2 separate regions of the Homo sapiens genome follow, and region 1 is linked to region 2. Evidence: promoter capture Hi-C in human tissues and cell types (Jung and others, 2019). All regions are on one chromosome and are shown on one strand. The core of a region is centred on a gene start or on the middle of the fragment in contact, and the rest is flanking DNA. Distances in the headings are between cores, read along the strand shown. Region 1 has its middle 3.7 kb from the start of MACO1. Region 2 holds the start of PAFAH2 (platelet activating factor acetylhydrolase 2).

Evidence for each region. The method cuts DNA at HindIII sites, captures the fragments that hold promoters and counts their contacts. A contact is called where the count stands out against the background at its distance.
Region 1: a fragment that was not itself captured here is called in contact with the fragment with the promoter of PAFAH2 in region 2 in 1 of the 25 tissues and cell types used here (aorta).

Annotation. Positions count from the first base shown.
Region 1 is chr1:25,424,526-25,429,874 of GRCh38, forward strand. It overlaps a transcript of RHCE not described here. Among named protein-coding and RNA genes, the nearest start is that of MACO1, 3.7 kb to the right of the region's middle. The HindIII fragment of the contact is 4,210 bases long and covers 1-4,049 here.
Region 2 is chr1:25,996,139-26,000,946 of GRCh38, forward strand. It overlaps PAFAH2 (platelet activating factor acetylhydrolase 2), which reads right to left and starts at 1,925. Exons shown (of 11, transcript NM_000437.4): 1 at 1,887-1,925. RefSeq lists enhancers at 1,671-1,750, 1,921-2,010, 2,021-2,070. The HindIII fragment of the contact is 6,472 bases long and covers 1-4,808 here.

The DNA of each region.
Region 1 (5,349 bases), core at 695-3,194, 570 kb before region 2:
TATAGGCACGCGATACCACACCTGGCTAGTTTTTGTAGTTTTAGTAGAGACAGGGTTTCACCACATTGGCCTGGCTGGTCTTGAACTCCTGACCTCAAGTGATCCACCTGCCTCGAACTCCCAAAGTGCTGGGATTATAAGTGTGAGCCACTGTGCCTGGCCTCTGATTGCCCTATTTAAAAGGACAGCATCAACTCCCCTTTCTGCTCCCCTTGACAAGGGTTCCTTGTGTTCCCCTTTTAGTTTCCTTCACAGCACTTACTAGCATCTGACGAAGTCTATATTTTTACTTGTGTATTTAGGTTTTTTTTTTAGATGGAGTACTCTGTCACCCAGGCTGGAATGCAGTGGCACGATCTTGGCTCATTGCAACTTCTGCCTTTTAGGTTCAAGCGATTCTCCTTCCTCAGCCTCCCAAGTAGCTGGGACTACAGGCATGAGCCACCACACTGCGCTAATTTTTGTATTTTTAGTAGTGACAGGGTTTCACCATGTTGGCTAGGCTGGTCTCGAACTCCTGACCTCAGGTGACTTGCCCACCTTGGCCTCGCAAAGTACTGGGATTACAGGCGTGAGCCACTGCGTCTGGCCGTGTATTTGTTCATTATCTGCTTTCCCCTATGAGAATCTGAGCAACATAAAGACAGGGACTTTTGACTGCTGTGGTTGCTGTTGTATCCTCAGCACCAGGGAAGTCCATAGTAGGTGCTCAATAAATATTTGTTGGCTGAATAACAGCTACCATTTCTGGAATGCCAAGCACGGAACCAATCATTTTGCATATGCTATTTCATCGGATCTTCCTCTCAAGCCTGTGAGTGTAGGCATCATTACGCTTACAAAAGAGGAAACTGCTGCTCAGAGAGGTGGCGTGAGTACCCAAAGCCACACAGCTAATAAACGGCAGAGGTGGGACCTAACCCAGATCCATCTGACACCATGGCTTGTGTTGCTAATCACTTTGCAATTCTGCCTCCCAAGTTACTAAATCACCCAGTCTCAATTTCCTTATGAGTCAAGTAAGATGTACTCTGGTCTCCTCACAGGGTTATTACAAACGTGAAAATTTGTCAGCAGGCCTGGCAGCCTGAGTTACGGAAATGAAGCTGAGCAAGTGGTGCTATGTCCACGGCGTGCTGGTCTGAGCAGCCAGGCTTCCTGCAGGTGTGGTGAATCAAGCCAGGGAGCCCACAGCTTTCACGTGTAATCATGACTTTTCTGTAAACACCAGACTCCCTGAGAATACCTGCCATGCCCTCCTACCTGAGTCAAGCTCAGTCACTGGCAGTGACCAATGAGGTAGGAGGTCCTCCGGTCCCTCCCTGGAAATGTGTCCACGCCAAGGGTGTGACCTTGCTCTGGGCACGTTTGGCTAAAGTGCAGCTAAGTCAGTCGTTCATTGATTTAACACACATGAGCTTTGGAGTTAGGCAACCTGGTTCAAATTCTGGCTTTGGAATGAGCTGTGTGACCTTGGGTAAAACAGTCAGTGTCTCTGTGCCTGTTTCCTCATCTGGAAAGGCAGAAAATCAGTGTCAATCTCACTGGGTTGTTGTGAAGATTCAACGAGGCAGTGCATAAAGTGTCAGATGTGTAGAAAACACTCCATAAATGTTAGCAATTATGATTATCACACAAGCTTGGCAAGTTTACTGTAGAAACTTTGAAAATACAGATGCATAAAGCTAACATAAAATGTCCATTTCAGTCTCTCCAAAAACCAGCACTATGTTTTGAGTGTATATCCTTTCAGATGTTTTTCTATTCCTGTCGATTTAGGCCTTGTTTTTCTCCCTACAAAAATGGGATTACACAGCACATACTGTTTGGTAACTTGCTATTTTCATGAACTCTATATCATAAGCAGTTTCCAAGCCAGGAAAATCTTTCTACAACAATATAACATGGTGGTTAAAGAGCCCAGGCACTGAAAGCAGACTGCCTGGATTTGAATTCCCAACTCTGTTACTATGTGACCTTAGGCAAGTGCCTTAACTCCTCTGTGCCACAGTGTCCTCATCTGTAATATGGTGCTAGTAATCTCTATCTCATAGGATTGTTGTGAGGATTAAAACAAAATGTATCTGATACTTGGAGTGGCGGCTGCCATAGTTAGTGCTGTGTATAATCATCCTCCATGCCACACTGACTTCCATGGTAAGGATATGTGATAAAGTGTTTGGTCAGTCCTCTCCCAAACTAGCCCTGTTCTAAACACTACAGTGAACATCTTCCATTAACATGGTTCTGGCCTGGTGTGGTGTCTCACGCCTGTAACCCCAGCACTTTGGGAGGCCAAGGCAGGTGGATCACCTAAGGTCAGGAGTTTGAGACCAGCCTGGCTAACATGGCAAAACCCCATTTCTACTAAAAACACAAAAATTATCCAGGCGTGGTGGCGTGTGCCTATAGTCTCAGCTACTCTGGAGGCTGAGGCAGGAGAATCACTTGAACCCAGGAGGCAGAGATTGCAGTGAGCTGAGAATGCACCACTGCACTCCAGCCTGGGTGACAGAGCAAGACTCCATCTCAAAAAAAAAAAAAATAGGTTTCTCTAGGGGATACAGGTACATGTGTTAAGAGGTGGCCATCGAAATGTTTGGACTTTTCTGTGATTCTTACAGGGCAGGAACAAAGCTCAAGACAGCTAGTGGGCTTGCGGGGATTGAACGGGCTGACAGAGGTGGGAATACCATTTCCTTATATGTGAAACAGGGTTTAATGATCTGGCCTCTAGAGCTGTTCTGGGCTCAGCTGAAGCCCAAGTGCAAATCCCTTCATCAGAAAGTCCCAGAAGGAGGGACAAGCCTAAATTCCTCTGTAGGCCTTGGTCTTTTGAATGAGGGCAAATTACTTCCCTTCCTTGTTTCACTCATTTGTAAAATGGCCACTGCTGATCTCTGCTTCCTGACTGGTGAAGGTGTGGGGAGCTGGGGCCTTCTGGCAGGAGGCCCACTTCTGTGCCCTTAGAATCCCAAAGGGCCATTTCAGGACTCAGAGGAAAAAGGCTGGCACTTGGCTGGAGCCAAAAGGGCTTGTGCTAGAGTGGGTCATGGAAAAAAGAGCTGGGTCTGGAGGAGTGAAAGAGGAAGAGTATGGAGATGGGCAGTCCTGCTCTGGCCTCTCCTTGGGTCTTGGCAAGAAGGCCATTCCCATCATCTCACCCCAACTCTACCCATCAATAGCTATATACAGGCACCACAGCTTGCTCAGCTTGTGCTTTGAGCTAGATTGCTCTACCACACCTATTATGTGACCTTGTTTCCTCTCAGCCTCAGTTTTCTCATTTGTAAAATGGAGCTAGCACAATCTGCTTCTAAACATAGAACTAGAAGCACCACCTCCAGAGGAGATCTTGGCACAGGGTGGGCTGGTGACTCAACCAAGGACACTAGTGAGTTGCCATGTGAATTGGGATTGGAACTTAGACCTCCAGACCTTCAGATTGTTTGTCAGCCATCACCCTCAGATTTTCTCTGCCCTTTCTCTGCTTCCACATAGTCCTAGAGCTCAACAGTAACTCTCAGCCACAACCTCCATTGCTCCCAGCCACTCCGCACTTTTGCCACAGCATGAGATGCCCTGTCAGGGTCTATTTAATAGTAGGCTAGACAGTGAGCCTCAGAAAGCTGGCATGTGTCCCCAGTGCCTCTCATCTTTTCTTTGGCTTACTCATCTAACCATCCCACTTAGTCTCTGGCCCAGGTAATCTGGAACACTGCAGTCATGGGGATGAGGGATATTCAAGTCTGGGGTTCCCATGGAGGCTGGAGCCCGGACTTTACCATGTACCTGTTCCTGCGCTCCCCAACGCCTTTAAGCTTCCATTTTGATTTGGTTCCCACCTGTATCTTCCTCAGTGAACCAATCTGCCTTGGCAGCTGAAGGCTTTTTTCTACTGCTCCACACATAGCATTCTGTTCATATCCTTTCTCAATGATGGGCAGGCCTTGGTGAAACTTTGAGCTCACAGAGTTTGTTTTCTTGGCCACCCGGTGCCACTTGATCAATATACTGAAGTAGAATTAAGGCATGAGAAACAAGTATACTGCTAACAGCAGTTACTTTCTGTTACCTACTGCTTGTCTGGCTCTGAAGGCTCATTGTCCTCCAAGCCTTAAAACAAACCTGAGTGGAAACAGACTGTGAGAGATTTAGTAACTTGTCCAAGCTAGTAAGTGGCCAAGCTAGAATTTCAGCCCTACTCTGAAAAAGCAAGTACTTTGGCCATTTTTCTTAACTGTATCTCTGCAGGGTATAGATTTGATCTCCAAGAAGCTTTTTGCCTAAGTGGATGGATAAGCCTTGCCTAAGAAACCACACACCAGAAGCGGCACTGACAGAGATACTGTGTTGGGGCAGAGGCAGGAAGGGGGAAAGATCGGTTGCAGTGGATTTAAGGATAGTGAGAAAAACGGTTTGCTTGCCTGGCGTAGCCTGGAAAAGGAGGGTGGGTCCCCACTGTGACCAGCTCTGGATGCCCTTCGAAACAGAATGGGTTTTCTCTTCCAGGCACTGGGAGATCTTTGAAGGTTTGTGAGCAGAAGAAAGTAACACAGAGTCATGATTGAGGACAACGCATTTGGTGTAAAGTTTCTCCCTGGGGTAGATGTTGATTAAGGGAGGGGTGATTACAGGCCAGAGAGAGTTCTGTGAAACCCAGGACAAAACAAAATGGCATCTACTTCCTGGGAAGTTTTTTTTTTTTTTTTTTTTTTGAGACAAAGTCTCGCTCTCCTGCCTCAGCCTCTCGAGTAGCTGGGACTACAGGTGCCCGCCACCATGCCCAGCTAATTTTTTGTATTTTTAGTAGAGATGGGGTTTCACCATGTTATCCAGGATGGTCTCCGATCTCCTGACCTCGTGATCTACCCGCCTCGGCCTCCCAAAGTGCTGGGATTACAGGCGTGAGCCACCGCGCCCAGCCCTTCCTGGGAAGTTTTAAAAATGCACTGGAAGACTAACTGCCCCATTGTCGTTGAGGGATTACACTGATAAAGCTACTGGATAGGACATTCTGCAATATTTTCAGAAATATTTATAAAAGCTGCATTAAAACATGTAAAAATGCTTATGTTAAAAACAGTATGACTACTATTCTAGTATGACTACTATTCTAGTATGACCACTATTCTATTTAATAGCAATAGTAACATTATCATCCATAGGGGAAAATTGGAAAACAAGCAAATACAATAAAATGTCAACTGTATTTGTGTTAATGTGATGAGACTCATTGGTGTTTTTTCCTTTTCGGCCACTTTCCTACATTTTCCCCAGTTTTCTCTAATGATAAACATTCTTTTTATTTCTCTTAAAAAAAAACACCATGCGGACTTTTCTAAGTGT
Region 2 (4,808 bases), core at 675-3,174:
TCAGCCCAGGAGTTCAAGACCAGCCTGGGCAACATGGCAAAATCCTGTCTCTATAAAAAAATTAAAAAAAAAAAAAATTAGCTGGATGTGGTGGTATGCAACTGCAGTCCCAGTTACTCAGGAGGCTGAGGTAGGAGGATTGCTGGGGCTTGGGAGCCGGAGGCCACAGTGAACCAAGATTGTGCCACTGCACTTCGGCCTGGGTGACAGAGCGAGGTCTTGTCTCAAAAAGAAATAGTAACTATGGGCCGGGCGCGGTGGGAGGCCGAGGCGGGCGGATCAGGAGGTCAGGAGATCGAGACCATCCTGGCTAACACGGTGAAACCCTGTCTGTACTAAAAAAAATACAAAATATTAGCTGGGCCTGGTGGCGGGCGCCTGTAGTCCCAGCTACTTGGGAGGCTGAAGCAGGAGAATGGCGTGAACCCGGGAGGCGGAGCTTGCAGTGAGCCGAGATCGCGCTACTGCACTCTAGCCTGGGCGACAGAGCGAGACTCCATCTCAAAAAAAAAGAAATAGTAACTACTCACGAGATTGTTGATGAGGATTAAATAATGCATGTAAAGCACTCGATGGATAGAAGGTACTATAACCATAGGAGGCAACTATAATTATTTTAACTACATGCCTCTCAAGTTCCTTATACGTAAAATGGATACTTCGTAAGTGAAAATATTGCCTAGGGCCTGGTGCATTTTCAGTGCTTATAAAATGTTAGGAACTAATTAACAATGCTATGTCTCTCTTTCCTAGCCAAGGTCTCTCATTTTTCCTGGATTAAGCCCTTTGGCAAAACAGATTCTTTCCCAGCAGCCTTTTCAGGCCTCAGACACCCCTACCAAAGCCAGTGTCTACTGAACAGGCCCAGAGGAGCCCAGAGGGAATGGATGGGGCTTAGGTTGCAGCTGTCCTCTCCTGCTGGGACCCTGTTTCTGGTGAGCAGAGGACTGCTGCTCTGCCAGCTGTGTGACACTTTCATCACTGGCTATTTCAAGATACAGTCCAAGATAAGCACTTCTCTTGTGCTTCCTTTCAGACAAAGCTCTCTGAAGACTAAAAGCTCATTGGCCTGACCTTTGGTCTCTGGAGGAAGTGAGGAAATATCATCCAGCTCGTAGACAATGAAGACACCAAGCACTCGAGGGATGAGATTGAGCAACAAGGTGGCAGAGCTAGAGAAGAGGCCTGATAAGAGTGTTCCAGAGCATTAATAATTGTGATAAAAATAATCTCTGTCTCTTGTGAAGGTCTTACAGTTTACAAGGCATCTTCACACATACTAGCTTGTTGGCTCCTCAACACTCCTCACCTGAGACTGATGGAGCAACAGTCATCTCCGTTTTAGAGAGGAAGAAACTGAGTCCCAGAGTTGTATGATTTGCCCAAGGTCACAGAGGGTGAGAGGCAGAGCTGGCCTAGAACCGGGTCTGCTGACTTCGAGTCCAGGGTAATCGCGGATCGGAAAGAAGGAATGGGGACCCTTCTTCCACCGCCATGAAAAACAGAAAACTGAGAGTAAGAGTAAAGTACACAAAGGGTGGAGGAGCATAAAGAAGCCCGGGGTTCAGGGATGTGAGGCTGCAGGGTGAAGGTAGGGCCGAGGAATCAGGGTAGGGCTGTGGGGTCCAAGGTGGGGCTGCGGGGGCTGGGTCCTGGGACGGGAGCTCAGTGGGGATTCCAGGGGCACTGGCCGTTAAAAGTGCGAGGCGACCGTGGGAGGGTCAAGGGAGCGGGTGGCTACAGGTGTCTGAATAGGAAACGTAAAGGACGAAGATTAATGTGCAATTCCTATGACTGAGAGACGCCGAGGCCCCAAACCGGGCCAGAATACAAAAGTCTGCAGGAAGCTCAATTGAGATATAGGTGTTTTCTCCAATCAAACTTACCCAGTCAAGCTGATTCCTCAGAAGCAGCCCCAGACGTTTAACTCGACGGAAATGAGAAACGACCCATGAACCCGTGGCCCTTTGGTCGTCGTAGTTTCCAAGGCTCAAAATGGACGCTTGGAAGCACTTCTCGTTCCTCAATCTAGAACTACAATTCCCGATGTACAGTGCGCGAGATTGCGCATTACAACTCTAAAACTACACCTCCCAGAGTTCTACGCGACCGTCCAGCCCCGCGTGGTCGTGCGAAACCGCCCAAGGCCTGGGATGCGGTGTGATTCCTCCCCCTGGTGGCCTGAAGAGGTGCCGCCGCGATTTCTGCTCTCGAGCGGAGGGTTTTGCCTTAGTCCCGTGCGTAACCCTCCGCCTCACCCTCCTCAAATAGTCCTCAGGCGTGCCTAGAAATGGTCCCCGCTTCGCTTTATTCTCAAGGAGGTGGGAGGAGGTTGGAGTTTGTTTTGTGTCTTCTGCACACTTTGCTTCCTGTAAGAATAATAGACTGATCATTCAAATTAAGGGGACATTCCCTACCAGCCTGCATCTGTTGACACCTGTGATTTTCCATTGTCCTCAAAAGACTCCCTGGCAGAGAAAGGGGAGGAACCCGAGTAATCTGCTGGGCCGCATCCATCCCACATTACTGTCTAATGCTGGTTCTTAGCGACACTGATGGACAAGATACCGCTCCTAGCCTCAACAGAATCACAGTCTAGCAGAGAATTCAGACAAATGAATAATGACAGCACAGAGCCGTGATCTCATGGGGAGACACAGCAAGCGTGGGAGCCTTGAAAAGGGGCCTCTGGCCAGGCTTGGGGGAAAAGGGCGGTGTCCGCAAGGCTTTTTAGAGGGAGTGATGTTTGTTAACATTGAGACCCGATATAAGGAAAGAACGTAGCCAGGAGTACAGAGACTGTGAAGGACGTTTCAGAGTATGGCATTAAGTTCAGTGCTGGCTGCAGCTAAGTGTGAGGGATGGAAGGAGAGTATTCTCGGGGGAGTGGGCGTTAGGCAGAGCCCATCCTCAGGAGTTCTGTAAACTTCTATAGGAAATTTGGATCGTTCAGGCAGCTCAAAAACGTTCAACGGCCCTCTACTACCTATGAAGTGAAGTCCCAACTGCTTAGCCTGACATTCAAGGTCTTCTCCAACCTGCACTCCCCCACGCCCCACCCCCCACCCTTCAGCGCCCCTCCTCTGGGAGCTTTGTTCATGCCTCCAAAGTTTCCGCCGACATCTGTGTGTGCCTCGCACATGTGAGTCGACTCACACTGCCTTGGGTATCTCCTGTATTAGAGGTCTTAACTCTTGACACATTGTGAGCTCTTTGAGGTCAGGTACTGAGTCCTGCAGTCGCCCCCTCCACCCTACTCTTGCAGCCCACATCCCCCCGAAACACCAGGGTCCAGAGTCCCTGCTTTAGGCTCTCCTCTCCTGCCGACACACTGTTGTCACCCCCATCCTTCCAGGAGCCAAGATAAAGTCATCAGGAGAGAGTGCTGGCAGCCCTGCACTGTGGTAATTAAGCCTCGGATCTCATTAAATCTGTGGCTGATGGCGGTGGCCACAGAACCTGAAAAGCTTAGCGCAGATCAGAGAGCGGCTCCCTTTGGCCCATTAATCCGTGCTGTGCAGCTGGCCAGAACACTCACGACAAGCCAGAGGTCCTTGGTCATGAGAGGGACAGCTGGAGGTCATTTCTTTCAGTCTCCTACTCCCAGACCAGGCCATGCTGGAGCCATTTGCTGGCCAGCTGAGTTTAAAATTTCCCAGGGATGGGCATGTCACCACCTCCTTTACCTCCTTTGTCACAGTTAGGAAGCTCTTCCTTGGGCACAATCAGATTCTTCCCTGTTGCAAAATAAAACAGTTGAGTTTAACTATACTTCCTTCCAATCCGGTCTTTTCTAGGATAAACAACCCAAATGCCTTTACCTTTTTAAGCAAATGGTTGATTTTCCAGCATTTTCATCATAGATCTCATCCTCCAGTAGCCCAAAGTTCCCTTCAAATCTATCAGCTACCATCCCAACTCTGGCCTTTACTTTGTTGCTAAATTGCTTCAAGTTGGTATTTGGGTGACCAGCTTTGGATTTCCTTTTTTTTAGGGGGGCGGGGGGGACAGAGTCTCGCTCTGTGGCCCAGTGGCGGGATCTCAGCTCACCGCAGCCTCCGCCTCCTGGGTTCAAGCAGTTCTCCCATCTCAGCCTCCATAGTAGCTGGGATTACAGGCACATTACCACACCTGGCTAATTTTTGTATTTTTAGTAGAGATGGGTTTTCATCATGTTGGCCAGGCTGATCTTGGACTCCTGGCCTCAAGTAATCTGCCCACCTTGGCCTTCCAAAGTGCTGGGATTACAGGTGTGAGCCACCACGCACCACCAGTGGACAAAACTTTTAAAATAAAGGTAGAATAGGTATACAATAAAGTATGTAATGGGCACTAAAGTATACAGCTTAACTTCTTAAAAACATTTGCTATAACTACCATTTACTTCAAAATGTAGGACGTTTCCAATATCCTGAAAGGTTGGCTTCTCAGTTGTAATCAATCACCCCCACCCATCCTCCAGAAGGAACAACTACTTTCCGTCTCTTATCATCAACTAGTTTTGAGAAGCAACATTTTTTAACTTTGATAATAACATTTTATGCTCACTGATAGCTGATACTTGTGTCGATGCCATTCCAGTCAAAGACCACCGGAAACACACCTGTATTAAAGAAGTTGTATTAATTATTCATTGCAGCAAGAGAGAAGGCAGGCAATGGGGAAATAAGGGCAAAGGGGGTGCATTTCTGTAGGAAGGTGGAAGAAAGAATTTACAGAATTTGGGCTTTTGTTAGACAATCTGGGGAGAGTTTAAGGAAGCAGGGCTTGGCTTTGGATTGGATGCTGTCAAGAGCAAGGGTAATTCT